Regions from separate parts of the Homo sapiens genome. Here region 2 is linked to region 1. The links are contacts of gene promoters, found by promoter capture Hi-C in human tissues and cell types (Jung and others, 2019). All regions are on one chromosome and are shown on one strand. Each heading gives the region's core, a stretch centred on a gene start or on the middle of the fragment in contact. The rest is flanking DNA. Distances are from core to core; before and after follow the strand shown.

The links. Contacts are between HindIII fragments. The study calls those that stand out against the background at their distance.
Region 2: a fragment that was not itself captured here is called in contact with the fragment with the promoter of ABCD2 in region 1 in 1 of the 25 tissues and cell types used here (hippocampus).

What each region holds. Positions count from the first base shown.
Region 1 is chr12:39,617,217-39,621,736 of GRCh38, reverse strand. It overlaps ABCD2 (ATP binding cassette subfamily D member 2), which reads left to right and starts at 1,934. Exons shown (of 10, transcript NM_005164.4): 1 at 1,934-3,060. The coding sequence starts at 2,122. RefSeq lists enhancers at 314-393, 1,623-2,142, 2,453-2,532. The HindIII fragment of the contact is 5,264 bases long and covers 359-4,520 here.
Region 2 is chr12:40,185,040-40,189,559 of GRCh38, reverse strand. All of the region lies in intron 1 of LRRK2-DT (LRRK2 divergent transcript), which reads left to right. Among named protein-coding and RNA genes, the nearest start is that of LINC02471, 31 kb to the right of the region's middle. The HindIII fragment of the contact is 7,808 bases long and covers 1-4,520 here.

The sequences.
Region 1 (4,520 bases), core at 685-3,184:
CTAGATTTGGCCCACCAGTTGTAATTTGCCAACTTCTGTTCTAGCTTGATGCATATTTTCCTAAGCTTTTAATTGACTGGAAATGTGTATGTATGTTGGGGGCCAGCTGCTGGTGAACAAAACTGGCTGTAGCTACTGAGCATACTCAGTGTCACTTAGAAATCCCCAGAAGTTTCAGAATATATATCACTTTTGTAAGATTTCAGTAGATACCACAAGCAGAAGAGCAAGCAGAAAGGGAGATTTCCGAGAATTTTAATGAGATGGGGGGCGGGGACAGTGAAGAGCAAAAAAAATGGTTTTTCCATATCCAAAAATATACTCAGCCCTGACTTAAAAAATGCTCTTGGCTGGGCGTGGTGGCCCACGTCTATAATCCGAGCACTTTGGGAGGCTAAGGCAGGTGGATCACTTGAGGCCAGGAGGTTGAGACCAGCCTGGCAAACATGGCAAAACCCATCTCTACTAAAACTACAGAAATTAGCCAAGTATGGTAGGCGCACCCTCGTAATCCCAGCTACTCGGGCTGCTGAGGCACCAACCTGGGAGGCGGAGGCTGCAGTGAGCTGAGATCGTGCCACTGCACTCCAGCCTGGGTGACAGAGAGAGACTCTGTCTCATAAAAAAAAAAAAAAAAAAAAAAAAAAAAGCTTTTTACATTTTCAAAAATATGCAGAATTGTCCTTGACTGTTGAACAATTTAAATCCTCCATTATGGATGTGAAGAATTTTAAGACTCTTAGTTTTTATCAAATAACCAAATGGAAATAGGAAGTAGCCAGTAGATTATCTCTACAGCTAAACAAAACAAACAAAGCAGAAACCTGCAAAAGACAAAGCATTCTTGAAAAATGAAGTAAGGTCCTAGAGAAGCTATTTCCACCATCCAACACCAGCTGAATTCCCAAATGGTTAAACTTTCACTATAAGTGCTACCCCACTCCAAGTAAAAACTACCTAACACATGGGAGTAGTAAACATGAAACATTGCTCTCATTTATTTAATAGTCGTCACCTTGTAAATAAATATGAGTACATCAGATCTCCAGTTATGGGGCTGGAAGATTTTTAGCATAAGGACAAGTAGGATGCAGAGGAAAAAGGGAGAATGGCTAGAGGCATAGCAAATAATTATTTTCTGTAACACGGAAGACTTTTATCCTATTTATTTACAAGGGAAACCCTCGATTACAACTTGTCTATTAGGTTCTGAGACCTTTTGTGAAATCAGACCCCCAAAAAAGCCGGGGGGATCTGTGAAAAACAGATCCAAGTGTATTTGATATTTGGCATTCTCCGGTGTCCCTCCCACTTGTCACTTTCTTTTCTGATCCGTTTCAGATTCATTCCATATCCTTTTCATATTCATTTTATGTTGATCCTCTTGTCCCTCCTCCCTCATTTTCGTGGTTCCTTCTCCCTCCTCGTCTCATTAAAACTCTTGCAAATCTCCCTTTCTGCTTGCTCTTCTGTTTGCGGTAGCTGCTGAAATCTTACCGAAGTGATGTATATTCTGAAACTTCTGCGGGTTTCTAAGTGACATTGAGCATGCTCAGTAGCTAGGGCCGGTTTTGTTCGCTTGGAAATCTCCCTTTCTGCTTGCTCTTCTGTTTGCGGTATCTACTGAAATCTTACCGAAGTGATGTATATTCTGAAACTTCTGTGGGTTTCTAAGTGACACTGAGCATGCTCAGTAGCTAGAGCCGGTTTTGTTCGCCAGCAGATGGCCTGATTCGACCTCTCCAAAAATAGACATTTTAACTCTCTGAACTCCTGTTTAAGGAAGGATGTAATTCGCTTTGCTCTCTCCTCATTTTCAAGGTTCAAAGGGAAGCTGCGAGGATTCCAAGGTCCCACCGCCCTCACAGCCAATGAGGGGCCTGGGAGGGAGGAGCTTGGTGCAGCTTGAGCTTCTGAGAGAATCATTCCCGGTAGATGCAGCGGAGTCTGAGCTCTGCTGCATCTGTCACAGCAGAACAAAATTAAAAACACAACAGTGGAAGAGAAACGCTGCAGACTATGGGACGCTGTAGGACTTTCTAAAACATTTGCTGGGGATTTCTGTGAAGCATGATCTTTTAAAACGAATTCTTTTGGAAGCCGGTTTGGGTAACTGGGAAAATGACACATATGCTAAATGCAGCAGCTGATCGAGTGAAATGGACCAGATCGAGTGCTGCTAAGAGGGCTGCCTGCCTGGTGGCTGCGGCATATGCTCTGAAAACCCTCTATCCCATCATTGGCAAGCGTTTAAAGCAATCTGGCCACGGGAAGAAAAAAGCAGCAGCTTACCCTGCTGCAGAGAACACAGAAATACTGCATTGCACCGAGACCATTTGTGAAAAACCTTCGCCTGGAGTGAATGCAGATTTCTTCAAACAGCTACTAGAACTTCGGAAAATTTTGTTTCCAAAACTTGTGACCACTGAAACAGGGTGGCTCTGCCTGCACTCAGTGGCTCTAATCTCAAGAACCTTTCTTTCTATCTATGTGGCTGGTCTGGATGGAAAAATCGTGAAAAGCATTGTGGAAAAGAAGCCTCGGACTTTCATCATCAAATTAATCAAGTGGCTTATGATTGCCATCCCTGCTACCTTCGTCAACAGTGCAATAAGGTACCTGGAATGCAAATTGGCTTTGGCCTTCAGAACTCGCCTAGTAGACCACGCCTATGAAACCTATTTTACAAATCAGACTTATTATAAAGTGATCAATATGGATGGGAGGCTGGCAAACCCTGACCAATCTCTTACGGAGGATATTATGATGTTCTCCCAATCTGTGGCTCACTTGTATTCCAATCTGACCAAACCTATTTTAGATGTAATGCTGACCTCCTATACACTCATTCAAACTGCTACATCCAGAGGAGCAAGCCCAATTGGGCCCACCCTACTAGCAGGACTTGTGGTGTATGCCACTGCTAAAGTGTTAAAAGCCTGTTCTCCCAAATTTGGCAAACTGGTGGCAGAGGAAGCACATAGAAAAGGCTATTTGCGGTATGTGCACTCGAGAATTATAGCCAATGTAGAAGAAATTGCCTTTTACAGAGGACATAAGGTAAGATAGAAATTAAGGTGATGGGTGAAATGTGAAACTGTTCAAGTTGCCACTGCAGTGCCAGATACCATCTGTTGTCCTGTCGATGGACCCACTTCTTTAGTGTCTTAGATTCCTCTGACATCTAAACCTGAATTAAAATATATGCTTCATTACCCCTTTTAACTGTAACCAGTTAAAGGATTATAGGGTGCAAACTTTTCTAAAGTTTCAGAAGAATAAAATTTGCAACACTCTAAAAAAGTCTACTTAGCCTCAGTTACTCAAATATGCTCAGAATTATTTCTAACGCATTTTCTTAAAACTTAAATCCCAACTTGGTAGGTCATCCTAAAGCACCTACCAGAAGAAAATATATATTTAGAAACTAAGACTAAACATATTTCCACTGAAATGGAAAATTTAGAATGATATTCTTTGTTGTTCCTTTGTTGTCCAAGAGGGGGGAAGAGCCAGGGTTTCTTATAGAAGACATTTTTAACAATTTTGCATGTCTGATCAATATGGAGCATCCCCATTCCCAAGAAGCGTAGGAGAGTGTCTCACAAAATGGCATTTCTACTACTCTTAGTTCATGTTCAGCACTGTACTTTGACAAAATGAAAAGAGGAAGTGAAATGAAATTTTGTCTAGCTTTGAAAAAAAAAAAAAGCTGAAATTAGAGAAGAAATGAGGAGTACAAAAGGAGTTTCAGAATGTTTTTAATTATTAAAGATTTTCAACATTAAGCAGATCCCTAAAACAATTAGCCCAATTATACATACTAACAGTGCATGAAGGTAACTTCAGAATATGAAATGACAGAAATTTTGAAGGCAATGCAATCTTAATTTAAATGACTTGGTGAATAAAATAAAGTATTCTACTGTTGAAGATGGCATGTCAATCACCAAGCAGAATTATTTAATTTTTAAAGCATCTGTAATTATCAGTGTCTTTAATAGCAGTAGCAACCTGAAAAATAATATTTAAAGTAAATTTAGGAATCCTACTCCCACTTGAAAATTGACCTCATATATTGTATTATATCATATTGATTTGTGATTCTTCTTGAACTATTGAATTCAATGATATAAATTATAGTGTGCTTAGACTTCTTGCATAAAAGACAAAATCCAACAAATTGAGTCAGTTCAAAAGTGGAGTCTATACATATATATGTCATGTGTCCATTTTCAGATATTTTTGGTGTAATCAACAAGGACAAAGCTCTAATAATTGTTTATTCATGTCTCATATAATATCATTTAATTTTAACATCTCATACATAAAATTTAAATATCATAACTATAAATTACTTATATGTATTTTATACCTAACATTATGTCCACTGAGTAGCATAAACTTTTAAAAATAATACACATGTGACCAAAACTAAATAATAACTAATACTGGTATTAATCTGCATTTATTGGTTAAGATGCATAGATAATGCCATACTAAAAAAAAAAAAGAATAAT
Region 2 (4,520 bases), core at 1,208-3,707, 570 kb before region 1:
GTGTGCCACAGAGGTAACAAATTTCCTTATCAATTGTGTTTTTGACTATGACTGCCATAAAACTTTTTGTCATCCATGGACAATTGTTGTCTTGTTTTGCTCCTCCTTAGAATGTGGTTTTATAATCAGCTATAGAACTCTAACAGGTGTCCTTAAAAGCAGGTTTCTGATAACTTTGGAGATTGTGACATTACAATGGAGGAAAAAACTTTCAATACTCTCATGGAGAGCTGAAATATTCATGAATATCAAGGAGAACAGGAGTAAACTGCATGAACTGAACTAATAGAAGACTAAAGTAATCTTTTTAACTTTTTGGTTAAAATATTGTTGATTCTTTATTTTGTTTTCCAGAGTCAAGAAAACTTTTAAGCTGTTTACAGCTTTTAATAATTGAGTAAGGTATACTCCTGTGAACAAAATTTGGAGCATATTTTTTTCTCTCTACCTGATTTCTCCAAAATTTGGAAACTATTTGTGAGTATTCTTAACTTATGACAATATAGTTATTTGCATAAGTGTAATAAGAATCTTTCATTTATAACAGGACATAATTCGAGAAACTGGTTATTTTACCAAGGCTTTTACTGAAATGGTGTGCTTTCCTTTAAGGAATGAAACTTGATTTATGGAGCAAATAAAAGACCCTTGGAAAAACTGGCCTCATACCTTTGTCTACATAGCCCCTGTACATGTTTTCTGACTTGTGGCAAGTAAGGATTGTCACTTTCTAACAGGAGCCAGGAGCCCTAAGTTTATCTTGGAACCTCAGGAGGAGAGGATCGTTGAACTCATAGGTATTTAATGGCACAAATCCATAGCCTGGCTCGGCTTTAGAAAGTCTTATCTGGGACTCTTTCTGTGGAACACAGTTCCATCAAATCGAATTTAAAAGCCTATGTAAGGCCAGCTACAGTGGCTTACACCTGTAATCCCAGCATTTTAGGAAGCCGAGACAGGCGGATTACTTGAGGTCAGGAGTTTGAGACCAGCCTGGCCAACATAATGAAACTCTTCCTCCACCAAAAATACAAAAAGTAGCCAGGTGTGGTGGTAGGCAACTGTAATCCCAGCTACTCAGGAGGCTGAGGCATAAGAATAATTTGAACCTGGGAGGCGGAGGTTGCAGTGAGCCAGTATCACTTCTCTGCACTCCAGCCTCAGTGACAGAGTGAGACTCCATCTCAAATAAATAAATAAATAAAATAAAAGCCTATGTAAAAAAATAATTATTCTTGCTGCACTGTATACAAATAATTAGACCCAGTATAATAAAACAAACCAGTCTTACCATGATTTGTCTTTAGTAAAAATGGGAAACTGGAGACAGAAAAATTATGTTTCAAAAACTATAGTACACCTGTTGTTAGATTCTAATCTTGCCTAATGTTTTTCCATTTTTATTATTTTCTACCATTTGGACCTAATTCTAATTTTTCTTGGCTACAACTCTTCAATATAGCATTTTTCATTTTTTCCCCTGCTTCTTTCCCCCATTTTTCCTAATTTGCAGTCACTGAAAACTAAGCTGTGCTTCTGTAAAGCCCTGTGAACTGAAGCTAGACAACTTAAACTTCAGAAGAAAATAACAGCAACCTATTTACATACATAAACAACTTTCATACCTATCTACTAATGTATGGACTTTAGAGTAATGTGGCCTATATCAATTTTCCAGGATTGTTCTTTTGTTTGTTGTTGTTTTTCTCCCTTCCTCTCTGTATTTTCTCTTCATAGAATATGAGACTTCACAACCTTCTAAAAATGACCTTTCCTAATAACTCAGGACCTACCTGTCTAGGAATAAACCATCCTAGCCATGAGAGATCAGACAAAACTTGGAACCTGAGGCTCATTTTCTTCTAAAATGCTTTCTCCAAAAGATTTTTAGAAAGAAAAGGGGGGAAATGTGAAAGGAAAATATCTTGGGCCCCCAAAAGCCCTAAGCTACAGGGAAAATTCAAGCTGGGAACTGCTTAGGGTCAACCTGCTTCCCATTCTATTCAAAGTCATCCTTCTGCTCACTGAGATAAATGCATATCTGATTGCCTCCTTTGGAAAGGCTAATCAGAAACTCAAAAGAATTAAACCATTTGTCTCTCACCAACCTGTGCCCTGAAGCCTGTCCCCTCTTTGAGTTGTCCCACCTTTGCTTCAAGTTGTCCCACCTTTGCTTCAAGTTGTCCCACCTTTCTGGACCAAATTAATGTTCATTTTACATATGTTGATTGATGTCTCATGTCTCCCTAAAATGTACAAAACCGAGCTGTGCTCTGACCATCTTGGGCACATGTTGTCAGGACTTCCTGAGGCTGTGTCACAGGTGTGTGTCCTCAACCTTGGCAAAATAAAATTCCTAAATTAACTGAGACCTGTTTCAGATCTTTGGGGTTCACATTACTGGGCAGTAACCAAGAGATCATTCTAATCTAATACCCTTTTCTAAATTAGGAAATTGAAACCCGGGGAAGGGAGGTGACTTTCACAAGGATGCCCTGTTGATAATAGCAAAGCTGAGATTAGGCTTTTATGTCTCTATCCAACCACCTATCCCAACTCTATTTAGAGGCCTCATATGGCACTCTGGCTGATAAGTGATGATTAATATATAATCCCTTTCAGTCTTGTTCCATTCATTCTCCAGATAACAGATGAAGTAACTTATTCTAAGGTGAAAAGAGTAGTAACTGTATATGCCTTACCACATCCACAGTGTTTGGATTTCTACTGATCATTCCCGGAAAGGAAAAGTCCCAAATCAAAGAATCAAATGTCTACATCACTGCTGTCAGATGTGGGAGATAATGAGAGCCAGGGACATTTTCCTGAACTTTCTAAAATTGTACGACCTAGATACCAACGATTCTACAATATCTGATCAGAAGTGACCCATCCATATATTTTTAATGATTAGTGATGACCTCAATAGTACATCAATTATCAAGTAGAAAATTGCCAACATGTTTTATCTAGAAGCATATCAAAGGATCCTTTTGATTCTTAAAATCACCTATAAGTGATCCTTTGCCTTCTCAACATAACTATTTTTTTTAAAACACTAACATCTATGAAAAAAAAAACTTAATATCTTGCTGTAACTTGGTTTCTCAGCTGAAAATTGTATCCTTAATTAAGGCTGCCTTGAGATTTAGGCCACTAGGTCATTGAAAAGGGTAAGCTTCATAACTAAAAGTGAAGGAAGAGCCTGGATATGTGGTCAACGATGTGCCTCAAGATAAATAACCTATTTCTTATTTTTTTCTCAATTTCTGAGACTCTTCTTACTGTTGGCAAAGTCACTGTAGCCCCAGAAGCAAAAGCTGTTGTTGCTCCATCTTTCCTGGAATCAATGCTTGCCTTTAATTCCCCTTTACAGATTCACCTCTAAGAATTTTCTTTGAATGTTCCTGGGATGGATGAAATGGGGGGAGTGAAGAAGATTTGTACTACTTCTAAAGCAGAGTTTACAATTCAAGCTCTGAAGAAGAAAAAATAAATAAACTTAAGTAAATGTAAACACAAGTTGAGGCACATTCAATAATGAACTCTAACTTTGCATTTAAAGGAAGAAAGATCTGCAGATAAATGAGGTCAAAAATCCCTGGGGCTGATGGTAAAGAGAATCTTGACAGCATCTCACTTCATCAAACAGAGCTTGAGAAAATTATCCATTCCAGATAAGCTTCTTTACCTTGATGGCAGTCATATAGCCAAGCTTAATGAGCAAAATTTCAAGCAAATACACTTTTTTTCCAATAATGTAAAAATAAAACAAGAATGCCTACACTTACTATCACTCATCATATATCTAAGCACACAATGTTAGAGGTGATTCCAAGGAATCATCTCTCATCTGTCCTCCCTACTGAAATCATCCCAAAGTAGAAAAGATCCTTTACTTATTTGCTTGTTTGTTTGTTTATTATTTTTTGAGACAGGGTCTCATTCTGTCACCCAGGCTGGTGTGCAGTGGCACAAACACAGACCACTGCAGCTTTGGCCTCTCCTGGCTCAAGTGATCCTTCCACCTCAGCCTCTCGAGTAGCTGGTATTACAGGTGAGTGCCACCAGCTCCAGCTAATTTTTGTAAAGACAGGGTTTCGCCGTGTTGCCCAGGCTGGTCTTGAATTCCTGGGCTCAAGTGATACACTCTCCTCGACCTCCCAAAATGTTGGGATTACAGGATCCTTTACTTTAAAATATCCTGGGGCTTTATCAATAACTCTGAAAAACTTTGTGAATTTTCTTGAACTGTGGACTTAAACATTCTTGTTTAATTTGGAGCTTATGAGTAAATATGTTAAAAAATAGTCCACCAGATAACTATCCTATGCCAGAAAACTTTAAAATCGTGAAGGGGAAGAAAATCATGTAATGTTACTATCTTTAACGGGAACAAAATGTAGTTAAGATTGCAACAGAATTTTCCATAAAATGCAAACATGGTGTGATAAGCACTTATTAAGTGCTCAACAAATATTTGTTAAATGAATGATTGCCTTATGGGAAGAAAGTGCCAC